4 separate regions of the Homo sapiens genome follow, and all the other regions are linked to region 4. The links are contacts of gene promoters, found by promoter capture Hi-C in blood cells and fetal thymus (Javierre and others, 2016). All regions are on one chromosome and are shown on one strand. Each heading gives the region's core, a stretch centred on a gene start or on the middle of the fragment in contact. The rest is flanking DNA. Distances are from core to core; before and after follow the strand shown.

The links. The method cuts DNA at HindIII sites, captures the fragments that hold promoters and counts their contacts. A CHiCAGO score of 5 or more calls a contact.
Region 1: a contact is called between a fragment that was not itself captured here and the fragment with the promoter of TNFSF12 in region 4, in 3 of 17 cell types (monocytes, M2 macrophages and total B cells). The highest score is 5.4, in monocytes.
Region 2: a fragment that was not itself captured here is called in contact with the fragment with the promoter of TNFSF12 in region 4 in 1 of 17 cell types (monocytes); the score reaches 5.9 in monocytes.
Region 3: a contact is called between the fragment with the promoter of ASGR2 here and the fragment with the promoter of TNFSF12 in region 4, in 1 of 17 cell types (monocytes). The highest score is 5.5, in monocytes.

Annotation. Positions count from the first base shown.
Region 1 is chr17:7,049,572-7,056,366 of GRCh38, reverse strand. No RefSeq gene overlaps it. Among named protein-coding and RNA genes, the nearest start is that of SLC16A11, 8.9 kb to the right of the region's middle. The HindIII fragment of the contact is 959 bases long and covers 1,170-2,128 here.
Region 2 is chr17:7,134,124-7,141,565 of GRCh38, reverse strand. LOC105371512 (a long non-coding RNA gene) reads right to left here. Exons shown (of 3, transcript XR_934191.3): 2 at 3,768-4,328; 3 at 803-888. It also overlaps the pseudogene RPL7AP64. Among named protein-coding and RNA genes, the nearest start is that of ASGR2, 23 kb to the right of the region's middle. The HindIII fragment of the contact is 812 bases long and covers 1,041-1,852 here.
Region 3 is chr17:7,113,540-7,120,157 of GRCh38, reverse strand. It overlaps ASGR2 (asialoglycoprotein receptor 2), which reads left to right and starts at 5,336. Exons shown (of 9, transcript NM_001201352.2): 1 at 5,336-5,543; 2 at 5,848-6,041. The coding sequence starts at 5,918. RefSeq lists an enhancer at 4,398-5,184. The HindIII fragment of the contact is 6,715 bases long and covers 4,927-6,618 here.
Region 4 is chr17:7,547,509-7,554,624 of GRCh38, reverse strand. It overlaps TNFSF12 (TNF superfamily member 12), which reads right to left and starts at 5,567. Exons shown (of 7, transcript NM_003809.3): 1 at 5,313-5,567; 2 at 5,104-5,151; 3 at 4,430-4,505; 4 at 3,773-3,826; 5 at 3,647-3,682. The coding sequence starts at 5,471. TNFSF12-TNFSF13 (TNFSF12-TNFSF13 readthrough) reads right to left here and starts at 5,567. Exons shown (of 11, transcript NM_172089.4): 1 at 5,313-5,567; 2 at 5,104-5,151; 3 at 4,430-4,505; 4 at 3,773-3,826; 5 at 3,647-3,682. The coding sequence starts at 5,471. RefSeq lists silencers at 5,373-5,452, 5,483-5,672. The HindIII fragment of the contact is 9,939 bases long and covers 661-7,116 here.

The DNA of each region.
Region 1 (6,795 bases), core at 400-2,899, 490 kb after region 4:
CACAAGGTCTTCATCCTCATGAAGGCCTCAGTCACCTCCTAAAGGACCCACCTCTTAATACTTCGCATTGGGGACTAGATTTTTTTTTTTTTTTTTTGAGATGGAGTTTCGCTCTTGTTGCCCAGGCTGGAGTGCAATGGCATGATCTCGGCTCACCACAACCTCCGCCTCCCAGGTTTAAGCAATTCTCCTGCCTCAGCCTCCCGAGTAGCTGGGATTACAGGCATGTGCCACCGTGCCCGGCTAATTTTTTTGTATTTTTAGTAGAGACAGAGTATCTCCATGTTGGTCAGGCTGATCTCGAACTCCTGATCTCAGGTGATCCGCCCACCTCGGCCTCCCAAAGTGTTGGGATTACAGGCGTGAGCCACCGGACCCGGCCTGGGATTAGATTTCAACATATGAATTTGACGGGGAGAGGCACAAACATTAAGATCATAGCAATTACCATCTTTTTTTTCCTCAAAAGTAGGAACTATTATAATTTGCTTTGGGGATGAGGGAACTATTGCAAAGAGAGGTTGAATAACTTGCTCTAGGTTATATAGCCAGTAAGTACCAAAGCCAGGGCTTGAACCCAGACAATCTGGTTCCAGGGTTCGTGTTTGTCCCACCATGTTATGTTGCCTCTTAATAACATATACTAAAATACACTCACATTCCACACTAAATATATTTTTACAATTAAAAATTTAAAAGATTTCTTTTTTTTTTTTTTGAGACGGAGTCTTGTTCTGTCGCCCAGGCTGGAGTGCAGTGGTGCGATCCCTGCTCACTGCAAGCTCCGCCTCCTGGGTTCACTCCGTTCTCCTGCCTCATCCTCCCGAGTAGCTGGGACTACAGGTGCCCGCCACTACACCCGGCTAATTTTTTTGTGTTTTTAGTGGAGATGGGGTTTCACCCTGTTAGCCAGGATGGTCTCGATCTCCTGACCTCGTGATCCGCCCACCTCGGCCTCCCAAAGTGCTGGGATTACAAGCGTGAGCCACCGTGCCCGGCCCAAAAATTTAAAAGATTTCTAAGATTTTTTGCCGTTTAAAATCTTAAAAGGACGTTTATTCTTTTAAAGGATTGTTTGTCTATAAGAAACTCAGTGAATCTATGATTGGCTCTGATTTCTCAGCAATCACGATAAACATTTAGGAAATCCTGCAAAGTGAAAAAAAGCTTCAAATTGTTTTCCAATGTAATGAAAATTTAGGAACATGAAATTTAACAAAGAAATGGACTAATATTATGTTTTGTAGACATTTTTAAAAACGCTTTAATATTCATTACTTTAGATTTTTAAGTTTGCCTTTTGTATTTGGAAATCGGTACACTTTTTCATATCCCTAGCATTTCTGTAAGCATGGGGAATGCTTTTAGCCCTAAGCCCTGCATACTTAGGGAATAAATATACTCTCCTCAAGGACAACAGGGAAATAAACCCAGAAACCACATGCCATGCAAGAACAGCGGGGCTTTATGAGTCCTGGAGCTCAGGTGTCAGCCCACTCTGCTGCTCACTGTGTTCAGCACTCACTGGCCACAGTCCTGAAACATCAGCTCTTGGGGCGGTGGCATCAACTTCCTATCTCCCAGATCCCTGGGCCCAGGGAAGGGGAAGCTGATTACCCATAAATCAGGGTGCTCGGCCGGGCATGGTGGCTTAAGCCTGTAATCCCAGCACTTTGGGAGGCCGAGGCAGGTGGATTACCTGAGCTTGGGAGTTCACCACCAGCCTGGGTAACACGGTGAATCCCTGTCTCTACTAAAATACAAAAAATTAGCCGGGCATGGCGGCATGTGCCTGTAATCCCAGCTACTCGGGAGGCTGAGGCAGGCGAATTGCTTGAACCTGGGAGGCGGAGGTTGCAGTGAGCAGAGATTGCGCCACTGCACTCCAGCCTGGGTGACAGAATGAGACTCCATCTAAAAAAAAAAAAATCAGAGTCCTCTTTCTACGTACCCAGTTGATGAGATGCCCGAGGCCCCGCCTCACCTCTCTGTAGGCCTGTGCAGGTGTGATTTCCCTCCAGGTGAGACCATGACACCCGTCCCTCACAAATGTGTTTTAAACCAGAATCGGTCTCATTGCAAGGGACTCCTGATTGTGAATGGAGGAGAGAAAGATAGGATGAAAGCTTGAGATGGAGGTAGCTAAAGCTGGGTATGGCTCTTTGAATGGGATAGAGGGAAGGAACCCTAAAGAAGAGATGCTGCCCAGCATTTAAAACGTTTTGACAGTAGGGGAGAGGCAGGAGAAAGCTTTGCAGAGGAAATGGCATGGAGATGTGGGCAGGGGCAAAGGAGATTCATGGCCAACAAGAGGTACAGAAAGGAACGCACTGGGAGGGACAAGATCCACCTGCACAAGGACAGGAAGAGGCTTGTGTGGCATCCACTGCAGCCAGTTGCAGCCTCTTCAGCGTCTGGGCCCTTCTATGACTTTGGGACTTTCTCAGGGCTTAGCCCCCACGCGACTCCTCCCAGTGTTCACAAAGGCATTTCTGCCTTGGGGCAAGAAAACAGGCACCATTTGCTTACTGGGCCCCCAAAACTCTGCCTTGCATATGTCAGATCCTCCAAGATGTGTAATTTACATCCCTGCAGAAAACCTGTTATCTGACCTCCTGTCCCCTCCTGCCTTGGCTTCTGGTCCTGGTTGATATTCCTTGGGGAGGTAGAGACTCTGGCCAGGCAGGGCTGCTGCAGCCCTAAGGGCTGATGTGGGTTACCATGTCCACTAAGAGCCTGCATCCTTCAAGTCAGATGCCCAGGTCTCAGGCTGAGGCTGGGAAGGCAGACAAAGGGACCCAAAAAACTCAGGTAGCTGAGAGGTTGGTATAGCAGCAGGGAGATGACAAATATCACCTTCTGGCCCCTTCTGGTCTGACTGCCCCTCACAAATCCAGACAGGAGGGGCATAGTGACTTGGAGTAGAATTGGACTGGCGTAGAGATGAAAGGGTGGCTACCGGTGGCTAGAAAATGGGATGGAATGAAATGGATGGGAACCTACATTTGTAGGACGCCTGCCCTGTGCCTGGAGTTGTGCTGGGTCCTTCCCAAGCTTTACTTCACTGAAGTCTCACCAACAATCCTTTGAAGCATTGCCCCCTTTTTATAGATGCCTGGAAATGGTGGGAGTCGGAACTCAGGGACTGTGCTTTTAATAACTCACCAGGTCTGGCTGGGCACAGTGGCTCATGCCTGTAATCCCAGCACTTTGGGAGGCCGAGGTGGGTGGATCACGAGGTCAGGAGTTCGAGACCAGCCTGGCCAATATGGTGAAACCCCGTCTCTACTAAAAATACAAAAATTAGCCGGGCATGGTGGCGGGTGCCTGTAGTCGCAGCTACTCAGGAGGCTGAGGCAGGAGAATCGCTGGAACCCGGGAGGCGGAGGTTGTGGTAAGCCGAGATCGTGCCACTGCACTCCAGCCTGGGCGACAGAGGAGACTCCATCTCAAAAAAAAAAAAAAAAAAAAAAAAAAATCACCAGGTCCGATTGGATTCTCATTCCTATTCTAATAATCCATTTTAGTTGGGCTTACACAGTTTTAGGATATTTTTGGCCTTCTTGCATCTGAAGCCTTTAAGAAAATTTCCACCTTATTATTATTAGTTTTTTTTTTGAGATGGAGTCTCACCCCATCATCCAGGCTGGAATGCAGTGGCGCGATCTCAGCTCACTGCAACCTCTGCCTCCCTGGTTCAAGCGATTCTCCCACCTCAGCCTCCCAAGTAGCTGGGATTACAGATGCGTGCCACCACATTTGGATAATTTTTGTACTTTTAGTAGAGGTGGGGTTTTGCGATATTGGCCAGGCTGGTCTCAAACTCCTGACCTCAGGTGATCCACCTGCCTCGGCCTCCCAAAGTGCTGGGATTACAGGCGTGAGCCACCGCGTGCCCAGGCCCACCTTATTATTTTTGAAGGGAGGCAGAACCCATCTGTCTATAGACACTGAAAGCACTAGGTTCTCACTCTTCCTGCCACCCCTTCCAGCTAGGATGAAAGCACGTGGCCTAGGTTCCGGTGGTCAGGATCACTGGACTTAGATTTGAGGGCCCAGAAGCAGAGAACACGTCCGAGGAGCAGCAGCTGTTTCCAGGCCCAGTGGTCACAGAGGGCTGCCAGCAGCGACATCTAGTGTCCTGTGGTGATAACAGCGGCTTTAGCAACCCATTATAGGCTCGTGGCCTCTGCTTCTGCCAATCTTGGCTCTGTAGGTTTCTTGGTGATTTTGTGAACTACGCAGTATCCTGTAATAAATCATTTCTTTCCTTAAATAAGTCAGAGTTAGTGCCCATGGCTTACGACTCACAACTTTGATACAGATGTTGGCCAAAGTCCCAGACTGTTAATAGAATATGCCAGGTAAGACACATTTAGGCTGGGCACGGTGGCTCACGCCTGTAATCCTAACACTTTGGGAGGCTGAGGTGGGCGGACCACCTGAGGTCAGGAGTTTGAGACCAGCCTGGCCAACATGGTGAAACCCCATCTCTACTAAAAATACAAAAATTAGCCAGGCATGGTGGCGGGCACCTGTAATCCCAGCTACTTGGGAGGCTGAGGAAGGAGAATCACTTGAACCCGGGAGGCAGAGGTTGCAGTGAGCCAAGATCACACCATTGCACTCCAGCCTGGGCAACAGAGCGAGACTCCGTCTCAAAAAAACAAAACAAAACAAAATAAAACACGTTTGGAGATTTAGACACAGACCAGGTGCAGAGCCTTTAGCTGGGCACTTTCCCCTACTGTCCCTGATCCCCTGTCCTGGATTCTGGGCTGTCCAGAGAGACCCAGGAATCAGGTCCTCCAGACCCCCAACATGTAATAGGGTGGGAAGGGGATGGTGACGACAGAGGGAAGGGATGAGGCCTGGATTGGAAAAGGCACTGGAGACAGATTTGGTAGAGGGTATAAGAAAGGAGTAATGTAAACACAAAAATTAGCCGGACGTGGTGGTGAGCTCTTATAATCCCAGCTACTTGGGAGGCTGAGGCAGGAGAATTGCTTGAACCTGGGAGGTGGAGGTTGCAGTGAGCCGAGATCATGCCACTGCACTCCAACCTGGGTGACAGAGTGAGACTCTGTCTCAAAAAAAGAAAGAAAGAAAGAAAGAGAAAGAAAGAAGAGTAATGTGAGGTAGGATTCCCAGCCCATCCAAGGCCTTGGCTCCAATCCAGCTCCAGCCTTAGCTCTGTCTCATCTGTGCCCCCTCAACCCTATTACCAGCTTCCCCACAGCCTCAGACTCAGCAAAGTCCTACCGCAGTCTCAGTCCCCACACAAGGAAGGCTCAGGAGACTCGGCTCCATCTCCCTTCTTCCAGTTGATATGGTCGTCCAAGCAGACTTGTTCCCGATACACAAGGAGCCCCTGGCCTCCTGCTTCAATGACCCACTCCCCATTTCAGAGCATCTCAGCGACGTGCTACCTGGCCCTGAGCCACAAACCCTGACCTTTGTGTCCTTATCCCCTCTGCAGGTCGTGTGCTTCTCCCACTTTTCCAGGCCCTGGTGTGGGCTTTAGATCTACGCTGACTTTCCACGGCCTGGTCTCTGGGTGATCCAGGGAAGAGGGCATTCTGGGGGGTGAGGGGTGAGAGGCAGCTCTATTAGGTCTTAGAAACCCAGGCCAGGCGCAGTGGCTCATGCCTGTAATCCCAGCAATTTGGGAGGCTGAGGCAGGCGGATCACTGGAGGTTGGGAGTTCGAGACCAGCCTGACCAACATGGAGAAACCCCATCTCTACTAAAAATACAAAATTAGTCAGGCGTGGTGGCACATGCCTGTAATCCCAGCTACTTGGGAGGCTGAGGCAGGAGAATCGCTTGAACCCGGGAGGCTGAGATTGTGGTGAGCCGAGATCATGCCATTGCATTCCAGCCTGGGCAACAAGAGTGAAAATCAGTCTCAAAAAACAACCCAAGATCAGCTGAGCCAAGCAGTGTAGAGCCTCATATTTCTGAGCACCCCAAATAGAGGAATGTTTCCTGTGGGTAACGCCACTCACTCTTGCCTGCCCGCCTCCCTCCCTGTCCACCTTCTGCAGCGGGAGCCCCTTGGTGGGGGTGCTGGGAAATAGAGGGGCTTAGTTCAGGGCTTCCCTGAGGCTGCAGACTCCAGAGGCCCCGAGAACCTCCGGCAGGAGTTCCCATGAAAAAGCCCCAGAGCAGTTTTAGAGTTTGCAAACATGGACGCATTCCCAGATCCTGTGGTCCCCAAAGCAAATGATGTGCCATGCTTGACACTCTTTTACGATCTCCCTATAGACTTCATCTAGCTCAGCATCTGCTTTGAGGGCTGTCCCCACATGGGCAGGCCTTCGTGGTTTGGTCCATCTGCGACTCTTTCCTGTACCACTGCTGCATTCTGTGGAGCACCAGGCACGGAGTCCACTCATTCAATGACTCCTTTGTTCAATGTTTCTCTCATTCAGTGATTCATCACTCACCTTTGGCATCTTTGTGTGTGAGAATTCCAGAAATCGGGCTGGGCACAGTGGCTCACGCCTGTAATCCCAGCACTTTGGGAGGCCGAGGCGGGCAGATCACGAGGTTAGGAGATCGAGACCATCCTGGCTAACACAGTGAAACCCCGTCTCTACTAAAAATACAAAAAATTAGCCGGGCGTGGTGGTGGGTGCCTGTAGTCCCAGCTACTCGGGAGGCTGAGGCAGGAGAATGGCCTGAACCCGGGAGGCCGAGCTTGCAGTGAGCCGAGATTGTGCCACTGCACTCCAGCCTGGGCAACAGAGAGAGACTCGGTCTCAAAAACAAAACAAAACAAAACAAAAACAAA
Region 2 (7,442 bases), core at 197-2,696, 410 kb after region 4:
GTCACACCTGCCATTGTAATCGGTCCTGATAGCTTCCGCCACCTTAGCCAGAGCTGCTTTGTCTTCCCAGTGAGCCTGTGTGAAGGTGACAGTCTTTTCTGGGGTCTTCCTGCAGACCAGGCATCTCCGTCCTGCCTTCCCCTGGATAACGCAGTAAGGGAACCCCACTGTAGGACACAGCGCAGACAGAGAGACAGCAAGCTCGACGAGAGTCACGTGCAGTCACCACCAGCTGAGGCTTCTTGTTCTCCACCAAGGTGCTGTCGGGGTTAACCCTGCTCGTGGGACAGTTGGGGTCTTCATGGAGATGCCCCCTTTGCCGGCAGCTTTCTTCTCTGCACGGGCCAATAGCCTCTGCTTCTTTTCTTGCCCTGTCTCTGGTCTGTACCATGGTCCAGCTGATGCAGTTGAGGAGCTGTTTTCTCGGTCCAAGGCCTGGATGAGTCGGTCACTTGCAGGAGGCACTTTCAGCTGCTCGTGGAGGTCAGCCGTTTGCCACTGCAACCAGATGTAGTTGGGCCATTCAACAATCAACAAAGCAGGTGAGGTCCCTTTTGGGCTGGATAGCCTGTTCAATGCCAGATTCTTAAGCCTTTTCTCAAATGCCGAAATTCTTTTTTTTTTTTTTTTTTTTTTGAGACGGAGTCTCACTCTGTTGCCCAGGCTGGAGTGCGGTGGCGCGATCTTGGCTCACTTCAACCTCTGCCTGCTGGGTTCAAGCAATGAGCAATGAGCCACTGTGCCCGGCCTCGACTGCCTTCTTATTTCTGCGATTGCCACCAGATGCTGCTGCTGCAAACAAGTCCCGCTCAGCCAGAGGCCACCCCTGCCGTGGCTGCGCTGTAGTCACCGTGGATCTGGCTATAGTTTGATGCAGTAATACGGGAGCTAAAAAGAAATTACTTAGGCAGTTGGTGAGGGTAAGAGAGTCCTCGGTAAGGCATCCCTTTTAACAAAAAGCAGCCCCCACATCATTTCTTTTCTAACAAAGAGCAGCCTGTAAAATCGAGCTGCAGACATTGACAGGCAAGCTGGAAGCTTGAACGGGTGAATGGCGGCAGCCGTGCCAATCGGAAAAGGCTACCTGGGGCCAGGCATGTTCAACATGGAGGCTTCATCTTCCCTTTTCCTTATCAACCACCTGTACAGTAAAGGAAGCAGCAACATGATGCCAACCAGGTAGAGAATCCATTTGCATAATAAAAGATTAGGGTGGGGCGGCCAGCTTCTTCTTGCACTATGTAAATGGCATACCTGGTCCCGCAATCTTTTGGGCTCTGTGTAAATCAGACACTGCCTGGCCGGGTGGGTGCGGCGGCTCTCGCCTATAATCCCAGCACTTTGGGAGGCTGAGCCGGGTGGATCACCTGATGTCAGGAGTTTGAGACCAGCCTGACCAACATGGTGAAACCCCGTCTCTACTAAAAATACAAAAATTAGCCGGGCGTGGTGTGCATGCCTGTAATTCCAGCTACTCGGGAGGCTGAGGCAGGAGAATCCCTTGAACCTGGGAGGCAGAGGTTGCGGTGAGCCGAGATCGTGCCACTGCACTCCAGCCTGGGCAACAAGAGCGAAACTCTGTCTCAAAAACAAAACAAAACAAAACAAGGCAAAACCTCCAAATCAGACACTGCCTCCTCAAGCTCACCTATAACACCCAGTGCATTTCACCTCGGAGCCAGAAGACCGACTTGGGAGCCCCTCCCTCTCTGCAGGAGAGAGAGCTTTTCTTTCTCTTGCCTATTAAACCTCTGCTCTTAAACTCACTCGTCGTGTGTGCCTGCATCCTCAATTTCCTTGGCATGAGACGATGAACCTTGGGTATTACCTCAGACAACGAGCTTCAAAAGCTTAATGGAACAGACCGTCTACCCCTGTTGTGCCCTGCTTAGCTCTGTCCCGGAAGCCACTAGGCACCTAGGCTGTGACAGTTTCAGTCTTTAACCCCCAATGACAGCTTGCTCAGGGCACACCCAGTCCCTCCTTAGTGCTGCTGAGCAACTGCACCGTGTCCTCGGGCTCCAGAGGAAAAAACACTTCAGTTCATAGCCCTGCTCAGCAGAGGTCCTCAAAGCACATCTTCTCAGCCTCTATCTGGTGAGGGGGCACCTTCAGCCTGTGCCAAACGCGGCTTCCCTCACAAACCCTACCAGGCCTTAGCACTGATACAGGATTCTAGGGACTGAATGTTTCTGTCCTCCCCACCCCGGATTCATAGGTGGAAGCCCTACTCCACAGTGTGATGATATTTGGAGGTGGGGCCTTTGGGAGATAATTACATTTAGATGAGGTTGTGAGGGTGGGGTCCCCACGATAGGATTTGTGCCCTTGTTGGAAGAGAAGGAGGCCAGAGTGTGCTCTCTCATCCACGTGAGGACACAGCAAGAAGGTGGCTGTCTGTAAACCAGGAAGTGAGCCCTCCCCAGACACTGGATCTGCCGGTACCTTCACCTTGGGCTTCCTAGCCTCCAGAACTGTGAGAAAGAAATGTTTTTTTTTTGTTTAAGCCATTCAGTCCGTGGTGTTTTGCAATGGCAGTGCAAGCTGACTAAGACACAGGGTCACTTGTTCTATTTCCTCTTCAGTCATGATGGGCTTCCCTCGGGCCCTTTGGTGCCTTTCCCCGTCAGTGGACTTCAGCTAGAGCCTCTGTTCATCACAGAGGTTCTAAGGACATTAGATCTCCAAAAGAAAGGGACTAGGGTCTCAAATTTCTTTGCTTCACAGAAGCTTTTTGGCCCCACCTTTCAGTGACCTGTCTGCAAACCAAAACTGGCAAAGAAGGGCAGTCTCCCCTGAGCCACTGGAGAAGTCCTGCCTCCCCTGCCTGGGGTAGGCGACGGCTGGCTTCCCACTTAAACAGTTAAGGGGAGCTGCTCAGTGCTTACAAAGTCATTTGCTAACTTGCCTAGACAAAGAAGTTATTAGTAACTTTTACATGTCAGCTTGGGTAAACAAAACAAGTTTAAGTTCCTGTAATCAGGCAGCATGTTTTTATTATTATTATTATTATTTTATTATTTGAGATGAAGTATTGCTCTGTCGCCCAGGCTGGAGTGCAGCGGTGCAATCTCGGCTCACCACAAGCTCCGCCTCTCAGGTGCACACCATTCTCCTGTCTCGGCCTCCGGAGTAGCTGGGACTACCGGCGTCCGCCACCACGCCCGGCTAATTTTTTTGTATTTTTAGTAGAGACGGGGTGTTTCACCGTGTTAGCCTGGATGGTCTCCATCTGCTGACTTCGTGATCTGCCCACCTCAGCCTCCCAAAGTGCTGGGATTACAGGCGTGAGCCACCGCGCCTGGCCACCATGTTTTATTATTAAAAGTTAATGGGGGCCGGGCATGGTGGCTCACGCCTGTAATCCCAGCACTTTGGGAGGTCGAAGCGGGCGCATCACCTGAGGTCAGGAGTTCGAGACCAGCCTGGCCAACGTGGTGAAACTCTGTCTCTACTAAAAACACCAAAATTAGCCGGGCATGGTGGTGGGTGCCTGTGGTCCCAGCTACTTGGAAGGCTGAGGGGGAAGAACTGCTTGCACTTGGAAAGCAGAGATTACAGTGAGCCAACATCGCGCCATTGCACTCCAGCCTGGGCGACAGAGTGAAACTCCATCTCAAAAACAAAACAAAAAAAGTTAATGGGAAGAAAAGCTATAGCCAGCAAAGGTCACAGGCAGGCTGGGTGGCTATGAGACCCCTCAGAGAGGCTGGGGCTGGGAAGGGGTGTAGGGAGGGTAGATTACATTCAGACTGACTCATGCTTACCTCAGGCTGTGAGATCCCAGCCCTCTGGGCAGATCCTGAGTCTGGAGCAGGCTTGGCTTATACCAGGTGGGGCTGGGAGACCCCTCCAGCAGGTCCCTGGAGGCCATGGCAGATGTAGCTGGGCCCAGAGCATTACATGCCATGAATGGGAGGAGAGCCGCCGTTCTGTTTGATTTTCTCTCAGCTCTCCTGTCCTTCTCAGCAAAATTAGTTTGAGCCTCTGCCTCAAAACTTGCAAAGTGAGGCTCTGAAACCCCGTCAGTGAAGATATGCTCGCATTTGGTCTTTAAGGAAATAGCTCTGAGGGACTCTCGAGGCAGTCTGTGAAGGAGGCAGGCTGCCAAGACACCGTAGGGTGATGCTGGGGGAAGAATCATCACTGGTAACCCCGATTGCAGGGAGCGGTGGTTGGCGGAATCCCCTGGCGGGAGGCGCTGTCTTCCCAGAGCAGGAGTACAGTGTCCTCTGGGTGGAGAGAACTCAGCAAGGCTGAGGGTGGGGTTGCTCAGCCTGTGCAGATTCCCTTACTTACTTGTCCCGTCTCCCCACTTCCTAATTTTACTATAAAAGAGGGAAGGAACACGAAAGTCTGTTAGGGCAGAGAGGCTGTGGATTGCATTTAGTGTATCAAGAGTAAAACTCAAGAAGCTCTTTTTCAAATAATCTTTTAAATTTGGGGCTTATAAATGCAATCGTCCTGGTTTCTGAACTCCATGTAATAGATCTGGGGATGAAACAGAAGCTATCACGGTCTCAGGCCAAGCTGCCTCAACACCTTTAGGGGCTTCGCAAGCCTTTTTCGACTCTAAGATGTGAACCAGAAAGTGTTTTTGTGATTCAGGCTAGGATGTCTTACCAGTTGGCAAAAGAAAGATAATAAGTAAGTGTAGCCAAATAGTTCTCAGGAGCTGAATAATTGAATACTCTTAGCTATGTAAGAATGATCTCTTTACTGTTTAATGTTTCACTTCAGCTACTTAGAAGTATAATGCAGATTGATTGACCTCAAGTGATCTTCCTGCCTCAGCCTCCCGAGTCGTTGGGAGTACAGGCGTGCAACACCAGTCCTGGCTAATTTTTAAATTTTTTGTAGAGACAGGGTCTTGCTATGTTGTCCAGGCTATGAAGGTAATTTTATATATTATCTTAAATGATTTTGTGCATGAAACAGTTTCGATGGCATTTTGACTGAAACCTGTCACATGAGGTCAGGTGTGACATTTTCCACTTGTGGCTCAGAAAATTTTGGATTTTGGTGCCTTTCGGATTTTGGATTTTGGGATTAGGGTCGCTCAACCTGTATTAAAAAATAGTTGGGGTGCAGGGGAGTCTCTCTTCTTTCAGACTGGCACCTGCAGCTGTGACCACACGGTGGCGCTGCTATCCTGATGTTGGGAACATAAGAGAAAAAAGAAAAAAACCCAACTTCCTAAGGGCGAAAGAGTAAACTAGAAATATGAAATGAGGTTTAATACTGATTGCAGTAATTTTTAAAACTTTGCCTTTTACATAAAAAATTGTGGTAAAATACACACCACATAAAATTTAACCGTTTTTAAGTATGCGTTTCTGTTGCACGCGGCACATTCATTGCTGTGCAACCATCCATGGAACTCTTTTCATCTTTTTTTTTTTTTTTTTGGAGAGAGAATCTCGCTTTGTCGCCAGGCTGGAGTGCAGTGGTGTGATCTCGGCTCACTGCAACCTCCGCTTCCTGGGTTCAAGCGATTCTCCTGCCTCAGCCTCCTGAGTAGCTGGGACTACAGGCGCCCGCCACCACGCCCAGCTAATTTTTGTATTTTTAGTAGAGACGTGGTTTCACCATGTTGGCCAGGAAGGATGGTCTGGATTTCTTGATCTCGTGATCCGCCCTCCTCGGCCTCCCAAAGTGCTGGGATTACCGGCGTGAGCCACCGCGCCCGGCCAGAACTCTTTTCATCTTGTGAAACTGAGACTCTAAATCCATGGAACAGCAACTCCCCATTCCCCGCCCACCAACCCCTCCCCCTGGCGACCACACCATTCTACTTTTTGTCTCTATGAATCTGACTACCTTAGGTAGTGGGATTATGCAATATTTGTCCCTGTGTGACTGGGTTATTTCACTCAGCATAATGTCTTCAAGGTTTATCCATGGTGTAGCATGTGTCAGAATTTCTTTATTTTTAGTTTTTGAGATGAGCCTGGCTCTGTCGCCCAGGCTGGAATGCAGTGCCTCAATCATGGCTCACTGCAGCCTTGAACTCCTGGGCTCAAAAGATCCGCGTCTCGCTCTTGTTGCCCTGGCTGGAGCGCAATGGCGCAATCTCGGCTCACTGCAACCTCCACCTCCCGGGTTCAAGCGATTCTCCTGCCTCAGCCTTCTGAGTAGCTGGAATTACAGGCGCCCGCCACCGTGCCCGGCTAATTTTTTTTTTTTGTATTTTTAGTGGAGATGGGGTTTCGCCATGTTGGCCAGGCTGATCTCGAACTCTTGACCTCAGGCGATCCACCCACCTCAACCTCCCAAAGTGCTGGGATTACAGGCGTGAGCCACGGCACCCGGCCCAGCTTTATTTATTTTTATAAATTTATGGGAAACAAGTGTAATTTTGTGACATGCATAGATTGTGGAGTGGTGAACTCAGGGCTTTTAGAATCTCCATCACCCAAACAAATGTACCTTGTACCCATTCGGTAACTCCTCATCATCCAGGAATATTTAATTTGAAATTAATTTTATATGAAAACAAACAAACATATTAGATCCTATATACTTGTGGCAAGTGGCTCTCCTGGAGTTTGCTGTCTTTTGACAGGCAGGTGTGTAGGTGGAAACTCTGGAGGGTGAGGTTCTGGACTGAGGCTCTTCCAGGGGTGGCTGAGGCACCATTTCTCCAGAAAACCCTCCCTGGACACCTTATTTCTGGGGTCCCACTCACTCCATGCTTGTGAACCTGTATATTTTCCTCTTATTTATTTATTTATGTTTTGAGATGGAGTTTCGCTCTTGTTGCCCAGGCTGGAGTGCAATGGTGTCATCTCGGCTCACCGCTAACTCAGCCTCCCGGGTTCAAGCCATTCTCCTGCCTCAGTCTCCAGAGTAGCTGGGACTACAGGTGTGCGCCACCATGCCCGATTAACTTTTTTGTATTTTTAGTAGAGACGGGGTTTCACCATGTTGGCCACGCTGGTCTCGATCTCCTGACCTCGCCATCTGCCCGCCTCAGCCTCCCAAGGTGCTGGGATTACAAGCATGAGCCACCGTGCCCAGCCTTATTTTCCTCCTAACTGTGCTGTTCCTGAAGGCAGGGTCCCTTCATTTCTGTGCTTCTGGCACAGGGAAGAGCTGCCACGCTATGGGCATATGGTGCCCCCCCACCCCCACCCCCCAGGACCCTCTGGTTGTGCTTGGCTTCAAAGAACCTTGTGATCTTGTCGAGAAGACAGAAAACCATTTGGTTCTGATACAGGAGTCGGGCAGGGAAGTGCTGGGGAGAGAAGGGCGGGTCTCTGGCTAGGGCTTCACCCCCGGGCCTGTGCCCACGGACCTCGGCAAGGACAGGCATTTCTGTTTTCATGCCCAAATGTTGCATTTCCCAAGACCATCCTGGCCTGCCACACCCGTATCCTGTGCCTATAAAAGCCCTGAGACCCTAGCGGGCAGACACAGAAGTGGCTGGACGTCGAGGGGAA
Region 3 (6,618 bases), core at 4,087-6,586, 430 kb after region 4:
TCTGATTCTTGTTTCTTTGTAGGTGATTTACTCCCACCCCTGGTAGTTTTTGGAATTTTCTGTTTATCCCTGGTATTCTGAAATTTCATGGTGACACGCTTTGGGTCATTTTTGAATGAATGTGCTCGGCTGGGCTATTACTAGAATACCTAAATCTGGAGACTTATCCTTTTTAATTCTAAGTACCAGCCTTGTATTCTTTCTTTCATCTTTTTCTTCCTTTTCTTCCTCTTATTTATCTTCTAGAACTTCTATTAATTGGATGTTGGTTCTTTGAACATATTGTTTGTGTTATTTGGGGAGGTTTTATGGGGCTAATAAAAAAAAGAACCCTATCTTTTCCTCTTAAGTTTGAAATCAATTGAGAGCCAAGACACAGTAGACAGATGAGCGGATATCAAAATGTTAGCATAATTACTGATAAGCAACAAGGAGGATTTGACTTAAAACCTTAGATCAAAAAACCTTGTAATTAGTTCATCCAATAATTAAGCAGATGTATCCACCCAGTCACAGGCAGAGGAGGGCAAAGCAGGAGCAGCTCTGTGCCGCCTGGCAGAGAGTAGAATACAAGGTGTGCTTCTTGTGGGCAGAAAGACACCAAAGGGAGCCCCCCCAAGGGGCGGAGCCAAGCATGCCAATCAGTCAGTTTCCTCCCCTGAGGAAGAGTGGGTTAAGAAGGGGAGTCTGGGCGGGGCGCGGTGGCTCATGCCTGTAATCCCAGCGCTTTGGGAGGCCGAAGCGTGCGGATCACTTGAGGTCAGGAGTTCGAGACGAGCCTGGCCAACATGGTGAAACCCCATCTCTGCTAAAAATACAAAAATTAGCTGGGTGTGGTGGTGAGTGCCTGTAATCCCAGCTACTCAGGCGGCTGAGGCAGAAGAATCACTTGAACCCGGGAGGCGGAGGTTGCAGTGAGCCGAGATCGCGGCCACCGCACTCTAGCCTGGGCAACAAGAAGGAAACTCTGTCTCAAAAAAAAAAAGAAAGAAAGAAAAAAAAGAGAGAAAGGGAGTCTGGAGATTGTCTAGTTTCCCTAGTGGGAAATATATTCAGTAGCATGAGACCAGAGAAAAAATAATTTCTCCCAATTTAACTTTTATCATTTAAAAAAAAAAAACCTATGTCTTTTTTTTTTCCTGGAAGATTTTCTAAATTTTATGTTTCAGAGCTTCTATTAATTTTTCTGGAGTTAACAACATGTATATATTTTTTAACTTTCAAAAGGTCTCGTTTTCTGAACAAGTAGAACATACAGGAAATTCTGGCTTATCAACAAAGTGAATTCAGGAAAGCCAATAGAAAAACTGGTAAAGGATATGAAAAGGCAATTCATGCAGGAGGAAACCCAAATGATTAATAAATCGATGAAGAAATGTTCAAACCCACTGTTAGCCAGAAATGCAAAATAAAAGAACAAGGATATGGCATCAGCTTGGCAACAATTGCGATGTTAATAATATCAAGCGACAAAGCCAAAAAGAGAACCCTCGTATACTGCTGGTGGGAGTGTGAACTGGCAGAGCCATTCTGGAAAACAGTCTGGCAGTCCTGAGTGGAATTAGGTATGGCAATACTCTGCGAATGAGCAATACCATTCGGGGATATAGTTTCCTTCCTTCCTTCCTTCCTTCCTTCCTTCCTTCCTTCCTTCCTTCCTTCCTTCCTTCCTTCCTCCCTCCTTTCCTTCGTTTCTCTTTTCTTTTCTTTCATTCCTTTTTTTTTTTTTTTTTTTTTTTTGAGAAAGGGTCTTGCTGTTGCCCAGGCTGGAATGCTGTGGTGCGATCATAGTTCACTGCAGCCTTGAACTCCTGGCCTCAAGTGATCCTCCCAACTCCAGCTTCCCAAGGTGTTGGGATTACAGGCCTGAGCCACCATACCTGGCCTGGATACAGTTTCAAGAGAAATTCTCACCTAGGTCCACATGGGAACACGATGAGGACATCAGTCGTCATGTTAATTGTGATAGTTGTTGGCAACAACCTGAGTTCATTATTAGGGGAAATAAACTGTGATGGATACACACCATTGAATACTGTGCAGCAGTTCATAGCAACAAACCAGATAAACAAATAGCAATGTAACAATCCATTGTAACAAATAGCAATACAAATAGCTCTAAAAAATTTCTTGTTGAGTGAAAAAGATCAGAAACAAATGAGATATATGAAAGTTCTGTGTATGTAAATACAGAACAGATAGACATGCAAACCCCATCACATATTTTATAAGGGTACCTACATATTTAGTAATATATATTGTTTCAGCTATCTACCGATGCATAATAAACCACCCCAAAGCTCCAGTGGCTTAAACCAACTGTTTTTTCTTAAGATTCTCTGGGTCAGAAATTTGGGCAGGGCTAGGCTGGGCGGTCCACGGGGTATTGGTTGGAGTGAAACACTTGGATACAATCAGCTGGTGACTGGGCTGCCCTGGAAACTCCCAGAAGACTTTGCTCACATGTCTGGGGCCTCAGTGCACCTCTGTGTGGCCTCTTTCTCTCTCCATGTGCTGTCTTATCCCCCAGGACTCTCTCTGGCAGGATAGTTGGACTTCCTCATAGCATGGTGACTGACTTCCAAGATTGAAAACTGAAGCTACCAGGTTTCTTGAGGTCCAGGCCCAGAACTGGCAGAGTGTCATTTCTAGTGCTTTCTGTTGGTCAAGGCAAGTCACAGGGCCAGCCCAGACTCAAGGGGAGGGGAAACAGACTCTACCCCTGGCTGAGTGGTGTGACTTGCACATGTGGTGAGGGGAGAAATTGATGGGCACCATCTGTGGGGACTGTCAGGGCACTCAGACTTCTGGCTGCCTATAGAGAGTAGAGAGTATAGAATTAGTGAGGGGAAACAGGATGGGAGCTAGGGAAGAACGAAACAGGACAAAGGTTTAGCTCAGACCTCTGAGGAAGACCTAGTGTCATGAAGTAAGGAATATGACCAATCTAACCTTTGTGTCTGAGGTACAAATAAACCCCAAATCAAAATCAACCAAATAAGGCCGGGCGCGATGGCTCACGCCTATAATCCCAGCACTTTGGGAGTTTGAGATGGGCGGATCACCTGAGGTCAGGAGTTCAAGACCAGCCTGGCCAACATGGTGAAAATACAAATAATTAGCCGGGCGTGGTGGTGCATGCCTGTAATCCCAGCTACTCAGGAGGCTGAGGCAGGAGAATCACTTGAACCCGGGAGGTGGAGGTTGCAGTGAGCTGAGATCGCGCCATTGCATTCCAGCCTGGGTGACAAGAGTGAAACTCTGTCTCAAAAAAAAAAAAAAAAAAAATCAATCAAAGAAAATAGGATTCCATAACCCAAAACAGAAAACCTCCAACAATATGGAAACTTCAGAAATAGTCCAAGTACATGTTAACTTCTAAGTTAAAATGATTTTCAAATAGGGAGAAAGAGAAGGACGCAGATGAGTCTGGCTTTCTCTGTCCCTTCTCTCCCTGTAGTGCCGTGAGTGGGGGTGTAAGTGACAAGCCCTGAAACGTGGAATTGGTTCAGTCAAAGGGGTGGCCAATGAGGATGGCCCCATCCCTGGTTGGCAGTTGGCAAAGCTTGACATGCAGTAGACAATCCATCTGTGAAGCTCTTACCTGTATCTCAGGACTAAATCCACATGCCCCTTAAGATGGGGGCTTCACAGCAGTGTTGTTCAGACTTTGAGTTGTGACCCATTAATGGACTGGGAAACTCAACAGAAGGCACGTAGTAAGGTGAGCATTGTCCCATCAAACTTTAGTGTCAACCGTGTATTTCCAAACGCATTATTCTATTCACTCACTCACTCAGTAGATACTTGTTGAGCAGCTACTGTGTGGCAGGCACTGGGGATCCAGGAGAAAGTAACACATACAAATGCACCTGTGTGTGCGGGTGCTTGTGTGTATGTTCTGGATCACAGCATGAAATTCGTCTCTCGCTGTGGGCTGCAGTCAGAGAGCCCAGCGGCTGCTGCTGCCTGGTGGCTGGGTGGGAATGTCAGGGTACTGGGGGGGTGGCTACTTCCCATGTGGGTCAGCAAGTTACAAGAACAGAAAAGGCCTCTGTTTGAATTCCTTTTCGGCACCCGGGGAAACGAGCAGCTTTATAAGAAACCCTGCCCGTAGCCATCCGCCCAAGTTTGGTGAGGGTCAGAAAATCATGCACAAAAACTGTGTTTTCTTTCCCGAGCTATTGTTAGCGCAAGTGTAGACAGTCAGCCACGTTCCTTGCTTCATGGAAGCCAGTCTTCCTCGTAGGACCATGAAGACCTTTTCTTTTCTTTTTCTTTCTTTCTTTTTTTTTTCTTTGAGATGGAGTTTCTCTCTTGTTGCCCAGGCTGGAGTGCAATGGCGCAATCTTGGCTAATGCAACCTCCGCCTCCCAGGTTCAATCGATTCTCCTGCCTCAGCGTCCTGAGTAGCTGGGATTACAGGCCCCTGCCACCACGCCCGGCTAATTTTTGTATTTTAGTAGAGACAGAGTTTCACCATGTTGGCCAGGCTGGTCTCGAACTCCTGACCTCAGGTGATCCACCCACGTCGGCTTCCCAAAATGCTGGGATTACAGGCGTGAGCCACCGTGCCCGGCCAGACCTTTTGTTATGATGTTATTTTCCCCTCTTTACTCCATTTTGCTTTGCCAGTTTCTCTACTCACCTGGGCCACCACCTAGAGCAAGTTGCCTCATCTCTCCGAGGCTCCGCTTCCGAACCCTGTGAAATGGGAGTAACAGAAGTCCTGCCTCGTGGGGGTGTTGTGCTGTGATAAATGAAGAAACACCTTGGAGAATTTAGGGCAGTGGCTGGGCCTGAGGACAGTGTTTGTGTTGCCTGGGCTGGGGCAGGGTCTGGGCCGGACGGGGCTCTCTGAGGTTGGATTCCTCCTGCGAGGAGAGCTGTTTTTCTGCAAAGCCCCTTCCTCCTCCTGCTGAAGCTTCTGGATTTGAGAGGCTTTACTCTCCAGGAGAGTGAAGCGAGTTGGGCCAGAGCTGAGAGTCTGGTGGCCGAGCCCACAGGAAGCTGGGGTCTGTGGTTCAGATGCCGGATTGGGCAAGAGTAGAGAACTGGTCGCTGTGATCCTGGTCAGGGATATTTGGAGACACCCACAGTTCTGGTAAATTCGGAGGCAGGAAGTGAGAGGGGGAGGGAGAGAGGGAAACGGCAAACTGCACCCCAGCCCCTCCTGGCCTGGCACCCCTTCCAAATGGTGCAATGAGTGGGGTGAGTGGCGTGTGGAGTTGAGCGCAGCCCAGGGGACCCCCCTCTCTGGGAATAAGAACAGAGATAGCCCCGTCCCCTGCCCCCACCCCACAAATGAGTTACAGCTCTGTTTCCTCTTCTGTTTACTGTCCAAAGTCCCAGGCCAGGAGGTGCCAGGTTAGAGCTTGGACACTCAGACCCTCCAGTGCAGGCCTTGCCCGGACCAGCCCCTCCTCCACTCTCCTCTCCCCTGTGAGCTCCACCTGCCCCAGTTCTCCTGGCTTTAACCCCTCCTTGGCCAAGGCCAGGGTTGCCTGCGGGAGCCAGGTGTCCGCTCTCCACACCTTTCACAGGTAACTGAGGCTGGGGAGGCAACTGGGACGAGGATGCTTGGGAACAAGGAGGCCTTGGTTCAGGGATGGGGAGGACCCCATGGGAAGCTGTGGGTGGTCGGGTCCATGAGCGTGGGGAGGGGTCTCCTGGCCAGGTCAAGGCCCAAGCGGTCTCCTGAGAAGGGAAAGGACCCAGCGGGATTTCAAACCTCATCCCAAACGCCCTGCCAACCTCAGATCCTACCCAGGCCACCACCCCGAACCCCTCCGACCCTGCGTTCCATCCCACCATCAACCTCCACGTGAATCTGCACCTCTGCCCCAGCCCCAGCCCTCAGAGCAACCTCAGCCCAGCCCAGCCCAGCTCCAGCTCCAGCTCCAGCCCGGGCCCCATCATGGCCAAGGACTTTCAAGATATCCAGCAGCTGAGCTCGGAGGAAAATGACCATCCTTTCCATCAAGGTGAGGGGCCAGGCACTCGCAGGCTGAATCCCAGGAGAGGAAATCCATTTTTGAAAGGCAAGTGTGCAGTTTCTGCGGCTTTGCTCCCCCTCTGTCTCAGCTCATGATTGCTCTGTCCCTTTGAGGTCTCTGCCGCACCCACTCTGTGAACAGGGACTGAGGAGGGCCCGACACCCCCGCTTGTTCCCTCACCTCACCTTCCTGTCTACCCCAGGACCCCAGGAAAGGCATGTGCCAGAGGTGTGGGGAGATCTGGAAGATAACTGCCTGCCCTTCTCCTCCCAACCCAAGAACACATGTGCCTCGTATGTGCGTGTGCACGTATGTGCATATGAGGAATGCAGATTCAGCTGGGACTCTGTGTGTGTGTGTGAGTGAATGTTGTGTGTGTGTATATGTGCGCGAGAGCGTGCATATGTTGTGTGTGTGTATGTCGTGTATGTGAGAGGGTATGTTGTGTGTGAGAGTGTGTTGTGTGTGTATGTTGTGTGAGTATATGTTGTGTGTATCTTGTGTGTGAGTGTATGTTGTGTGTTGTGTGTGTATCTTGTGCATGTGTGTATGTTGTGCGAGTGTATGTTGTGTATGTGAGTGTGTGTATGTTGTGTGTATGTTGTGTGTATGTATGTTGTGT
Region 4 (7,116 bases), core at 4,318-6,817:
GGGTCTGACCGGCTGGGCGCGGTGGCTCACGCCTGTAATCCCAGCACTTTGGGAGGCCGAGTTGGGTGGATCACGAGGTCAGGAGATCGAGACCATCCTGGCTAACACGGTGAAACCCCGTCTCTACTAAAAAATAAAAAAAAATTAGCCAGGCGTGGTGGCGGGCGCCTGTAGTCCCAGCTACTTGGGAGGCTGAGGCAGGAGAATGGCATGAACCCAGGAGGCGGAGCTTGCAGTAAGCCGAGATCGCGCCACTACACTCCAGCCTGGGCGACAGAGTGAGACTCCATCTCAAAAAAAAAAAAAAAAAAAAAAAAGAGTCTGGATATTAGTTGCTGTGGGCACCTAGCCTGGCCCCTAGCAAACAGTAGGTCTTCAATGCCTGTTGAGTCAATGAATGAATGAATGTCTGGATAATTGCCAAAATAAGTGGTCTATACAGAGGGGAGGAAGGCTGATCTGGGCATGAAGAGTAGGGAGGGCAGAGAAGAGAGGGCATTCCTAGCTACGAAGCCAGCCTAAGCAAAGGCTGCTTGTAGCCTAAGGGCATGGTGTGCCCAGGAGCACGGAGGGCTTGCCTGGTATATCACTTGTCTCCAGCCACAAACCTCACCTGGACATTCCGTCCTGCCTGGCAATCTTACATTCCCCCACGAAGCTTGCTTTCATAATCAGCAAGTTGAGATTTTGTACCATTTCTCCTCAAATCTCCTGTCTCCATCTCCCTAGTTGTCCAGAGGACCTAGAAGTCATCGAGCAAAGGTTCCCTCATCTCCCCCCAGCAAATCTACAAACCCACCTGGTCTCTTGTTCTCCTTTGACCCTCTGGTAATGGTGGGAGATGTGTCCTCTCTTCTTTCTGGAAACTTCCCTCTCCCCTTTTTGGATGTGGCCCCTGCATGGACCCCTCACCCCTGCACCAGCCACCTCGCCTTTCATGCAGACCATGTCCAGTACACAGGCACATTCTAGCTGGGTTCAAATCTTGGCTCCACCACTTAGTATCTCATGGCCTCAGACAAGTTGTGTAACCTCCATCTGTAAAATGGAGGTAATTAGAGTATCTTCCTTTTAGGGCTGTTGTGAGGATTAGATAAGACCAAACACAAGTGCCAGACACAGTGCCTATCTCAAGAAAGCCCTCAGTACATGTTAGATCAGATGAAAATAGTATTGTTCACAGAACTAAACTTTTCCTTGGTCCACACACCCCTCCACCTACTGGCCTATTTCTCTGCTCCTTGTTACAGAGAAACTTCTAAAAAGGGTTGTCCTAGGCCGGGTGCAGTGGCTCATGCTTGTAATCCCAGCACTTTGGGAGGCCGAAGCGGGTGGAACACCTGAGGTCGGGAGTTTGAGACCAGCCTGACCAACATGGAGAAACCCTGTCTCTACTAAAAATACAAAATTAGCCAGGCGTGGTGGCGCATGCCTGTAATCTCAGCTACTGGGGAGGCTGAGGCAGGAGAATTGCTTGAACCCGGGAGGTGGAGGTTACGGTCAGCCGAGATCGTGCCATTGCACTGGATCCAGCCTGGGTGACAAGAGTGAAACTCTGTCACAAAAAAAAAAAAAAAAAAAAAAAAAAAAAAAAAAAAAAAGGTTGTCCCTGCCTCCAGTTCCTTATTTCTCATTTTCTTCTCAACCCAATGCACACTGCCTTCCTGTTCTAACTATGCCACTGAAACCACCCTCTTTAAGGTCAGCAGGACTTTCACGTTACCAAACCCAGCCATCATTTCTCTGTTCTCATTTCATGTGATCTCTCAGCTGCATTCAACACAGACAGCCACATCCTCCTTGAAACAGTGGTTTCTCCGAATCCAGGATGCCACCCTCCCTGGGTTTCTTCCTCTCTCTCCAGCTTCTTTTCAGTCTCTGCTGGTTTTCCCCTCAGCTCCACTTCAAGATGCCCAAGAGTCTCAGGGCTTCATTCGTGGGGCCCTTCTTTCTCCTGGCGTCTCACCCAATCCTGTGGCTTTAAATGCCATCGATAGGCCGGGCACAAGGGCTCACACCTGTAATCCCAGCACTTTGGGAGGCTGAGGCTGGCGGATCACCTGAGATCAGGAGTTCAAGACCAGCCTGGCCAACACGGTGAAACCCTGTCTCTACTAAAAAATACAAAAATGAGCTGGGTGTGGTGGCACCCGCCTATAATCTCAGCTACTTGGGAGGCTGAGACAGGAGAATCGCTTGGACCCAGGAGGCAGATGTTGCAGTGAGCCAAGATCGAACCACTGCACTCCAGCCTGGGTGACAGAGCGAGACTCTGTCTCAAAAAAAAAAAAAAAAAAGCCATCCATATGGCCATGACTCCTGGCTTTATCCGTCCTGACCTAGCCTAAGCTAGTCGACAATGTCCAGCCATCCATTTCTGGAATTTACTTTATTGTCATTTATCCGCTTGTTTATTTTAGACTTCTCAACGTTAATAATTATCTTACATACTTCCCAACCTATTTATTCCTTGGTCAATCCCTTCTTAGGAAATGGCATCATTCTTCCCAGAGATACCCAAGTTAAAAATCTAGAAGCTGGCTGGGTGCAGTGGCTCATGCCTGTAATCCCAGCACTTTGGTAGGCCGAGGCGGGCAGATCACTGGAGGTCAAGAGTTTGAGACCAGCCTGGAAAACATGGCAAAACCCCATCTCTACTAAAAATACAAAAATTAGCCAGGCGTGGTGGCACACGCCTGTAATCCCAGCTACTTGGAAGGCTGAGACGGGAATCTCTTGAACCTGGGAGGCAGAGGTTGCAGTAAGCCGAGATTGCACCACTGCACTCCAGCCTGGGTGACAGAGCGAGACTGTCTTAAAAAAAATAAAAAATCTAGAAGTCATCTGTGATTCCTCCCTTTCTTTTATTCTTCACCTCCAACCCATAAGTCAGTAATATCTTCAGGACACAGGCTGAACCCATCCACTTCTCACCATCTCTGCTGTGAACCCCTCGGCTGAGCACTCCTCATGCCTCCCTGCCTCTCACAGTGGAAAGACATTCTGGTGAGGGGGATGGTATGTGCAAAGTCCAGAAGAGGCACACCGGGAGCAGGGGTGTCAGCGCAGCAAACATGAAGACAGCATAAGAGTGCAGGGAAATTAGGTTGAGACCAGACCACGAAGAGACTGGAAGCCATGTAGAGAGCCAATACCACAAGAAAAGTGAAGTTTAGGGGCTCAGCATGGCAGCACAGGTCAGATGGAGTGGAGGGGTAGGGAGGGTGTGGAGTGGGGAAGCAGCAAGAGGCTGGATTTGAGGTTCTGAGGTCACGGTGCTGAGGTAGAGGGTGGGGTAGAAATGGAAAAGATGAGCAGACACTAGCAGCATTTAGAGAAAAAGATCATCAGAACGTGGAATATGGAGGAGACAGAAGAAAAAAGAATGAAAAGTGCTTCTTGGAGAAGAATGAGGGCTGAAGGAGAGAGCTGGGACAGTGATTTGCTGGGGGAACTGGGCAGAGTTCTGGGGAAGAGTAGGGGTCTTTCATGGGGTCCCACGCCTGGGTCACAGAGAGAACCAAGACCTTCATGAACTGGCTTCTGTGGTTCTGAGACTGATGGCCGGGAAGGGAGTGGGAGGTCAAAGGTTTTCAAGGGCCCTTTTCCCAGGAGGCCAGTGCTGTGTCGGGGGATGGGGTCTCACCTGCCTGCGCTCCGTCCTGTCCAGGTCGTGGATGAACTGTAAAGTACAGGAAAAGGCTGGTGAGACCTGCCCTGACCCTCTGCCACCTGCCCCTCTCCTCCTGGGTATGGCTCACCCATCACCCACCTTCATAATGGGCTGCGATCGCTCTTCGAGCCCGTGTTTTCCGGCCTTTAGGTGCTGAGGATCAAGGAAAGACAGATGAGCAAAGCGGGCCCTAGTGGGGGTCCCAGAGCAACTCTCCCAGCCCCATTCCCCTCTCAGGAACCCTGGCATCCTTATTCTTGTCCAGACTCCTGGCCTTAGAATCTCAGGCCTCATCTTCCTCAGTAAGTAGAGTGACTATAATTTGTCATCCACACTGGGATACTGCTGAGAGCAAAACGGGAAGCTGCTATTAATCACACCGAGATAACAGGTGGGGGCCAGGACAACTGCATGCCGACTTGGACACGTGGTCATCCGGCCACCCCATCATCCCATTCCTAAGTCTCTTTGCCTACCGGGGCCCAGGCCTCTGACTGCCAGGCCTAGTCTCCATCAGGATCCCAGTAGTTCTTCTAACTCATGGCCACCCTGCCTTCCTGTTTGGGGTAGGGTCTGAAGGAGCACATCCATATGACAGAAGGAGCTTCAGAGGAGGGCGAGAATCCCTAGGTTTGAGTCTTGGCTGGTTAGCTGCATGACTCTGAACTCCTTTCACCCTCCGTGCCTCAGTTTCTCCCTGTGGATAATGGTTTTTGCTCTGCCCGCTTCCTGAGGTTGGGATAGAGGGATGCTCACCACTTCTGCGAGGCCGAACTAGTCGGTTCAGGAAAGGCGCAGGATCCTGGCTTTCTTCTGTCTGGGGATTCAGTTCCTAGGGGAATTAGGGCAGGGTTCAACCACAGACTCCCAGAGATATAAAGTGAGACATACGGGGCCTGTCAGGAGAGCCACCAGCCAGCAATAGACACAGAAGTCAGGGACAGATTAAGCCCCTCAGCCAACTACAGCTGGGGCCCCGGGCAAAGGTGAAGCTGGGAGTCAGGCCCCAGTCCTCACCCTTTCCTCTAGACCAGCTACACTTTCCCACCCACACACACAACCAACGCAGACCCTGCATTCAATTGGCACATTGCACACATGCCCGCACCCAGTCACCACGCACAGAGGATACACACCCTGTACACAACCGCACCCCTCTTCCACGCAGACTCACATATCTTATACAACCACGTCACCCCCAGCCAATAAACACCTCAGACTCAGGTGGCACAACCCCAGCACAAACCCCTCACACAGAGTTGTCACCACGCACACACACCCCTGCAGACACGCACCCATGCACGCACTGTGTTCACACACACCCTGCACACACCTCGAGTACGGCTGGCACAGCTGCACACACCTGCAGCCTCGGCTGTGCACACTTCCCATGCCCCAGCAGCCTGCAGACCGCGCCCACGCCCACTCACCGACGGGTCCTGGTCCTCCTCTGCCACCAGCTCCTCCTGGGCAGGCTCCTGCTGGGAAGGAGGGAGCGTCACCCTGTGCCGCTCCACCTGACATCTCACCCTCCACCCATCCTCCCTTCCCCTTGCCTTCAGCCCACGCGGCCCCCAGCGGCCCCTCTGCAGTCTCAGCTCCTGATGTGCCCAAGAAGGGGTGCGCAGCGGGGCCTCACCTGGGCGGACAGCGATGCCCGGCTCCCCAAACTGACCACGGCCAGCAGGAGGCCGAGGCAGGCCAGCGCCAGGCCCAGGCCCAGCGCGAGCGGGACCAGCAGGGCGGTGCCCGGCTCCCCCCGGCGCCCCCTCCGCCTCTGGCTCCGACGGGCGGCCATGGGGGCGGGGGGCTGTGCCTGCCTCACCGCCCCCCCATCCCGGGACCCGAGGGATCGGGGGAGGGGGAGCCGGCGGGCGGATCGGGCCGGGGAGAGGGAGGGGCAAGGGAAACGGGGCGGGAGGGGGCGCTGGGGACAGGAAGCCGGACGCTGTGTGTGATCAAACTCCGAGCCTCTCGCCGGGCGCTGTGCGCGCAGCGAACGGAGTGGGCGCCCACCCGACCTCTGAGCGCCCAGCCCGGGCGTGCACCACCAGGGCGAGGTCCGTTGCGTGCGGCCGCGGGAGCGACGGGGCTATGCGTGTGCGGGCACCTCCTGCGGGGAGGTGGGGAACTCAGGAAGGCCTGTTGGTTCAGATTCTTCTGTGTCCCTGTGTCTTCAGAGATAAGGACCCTCCTTTCCCCCAGGTGCAGGGAGGGCGCCTCTCGCAGGAGGCTGTTATTTGCTTCTTCAGGAAAAGGGCAGGGAGTTCCAGGTTGTATGACCTGGTTCAGGGAAGAAGGGCAGGAGAAGGTAAGAAAGATCCTTCGGCTTCTGCGGTTTTCTCAAATTCCTTCAGCTTAAAACACTCACTGTGCCGGTAGCACGTTCTGAAGCCCATCATTACCAATGATTGCCAAGCATCTGAGGAGGACCAGCAGCATGCAAAAGAAACACCAAAATTGGTCCGGCAGGTGGCTTACGCCTGTAATCCCAGAAGGCCAAGGCTGGGGGCCAGGAGTTCAAGATCAGCCTGGGCAAGAGCAAGACCCCATCTCTACAGAAAAGTTTTAAAAAATTAGCCCACGCCTGTAGTCCCAGCTACTCAGGAGGCCGAGGTAGGAGGATTGTTTGAGCCCAGGAGTTTGAGGCTGCAGTGAGCTGTGATTGCACCACTACACTCCAGCCTGGGCAACAGACCTTGTCTCAAAAAGAAAGAAAGAAAGGAAGAAAGAAAGAAAGGAGGGAGGGAGGGAGGGAGGGAAGGAGGGAAGGAAGGAAGGAAGGAAGGAAGGAAGGAAGGAAGGAAGGAAGGACCAAAATTGGCTGGGCGCGATGGTTCACGCCTGTAATCGCAGCACTTTGGGAGGCTGAGGCGGGTGGATCACGAGGTCAGGAGATCGAGACCTGCCTGGCCAAGATGGTGAAACCCTGTCTCTAATAAAAATACAAAAAAATTAGCCGGACGTGGTGGCAGGCGCCTGTAGTTCCCAGCTACTCGGGAAGCTGAGGCAGAGAATTGCTTGAACCCAGGAGACAGAGGTTGCAGAGAGCTGAGATCACGCCACCACACTCCAGCCTGGGCAACACAGCAAGACCCTATCTCAAAAAAAAAAAAAAAGAAAGAAAGACCAAAATTAACAAACAAAATTTGACATTGGAGGAAACAGAGATAATTCAGGATACAAAGAGTACTACCTAATATACTTAAAGAGAGTCAAGAAAAAGCATCCATAGAGCTGGGCATGGTGGTGCATGCCTGTAGTCCCAGCTACTCAGGAGGTTGAGATGGGAGGATCACCTGAGCCTGGGAGGTTGAGGCTGCAGTGAGCTGTGATCACACCACTGCATTCCAACACGAGCAACAGAGTAAGACCCTGTCAAAAAAAAAAAAAAAAAAAAGAGTATGCAAAGAAAGAAAAGCAGTTAGAATCTCCAGAAAATT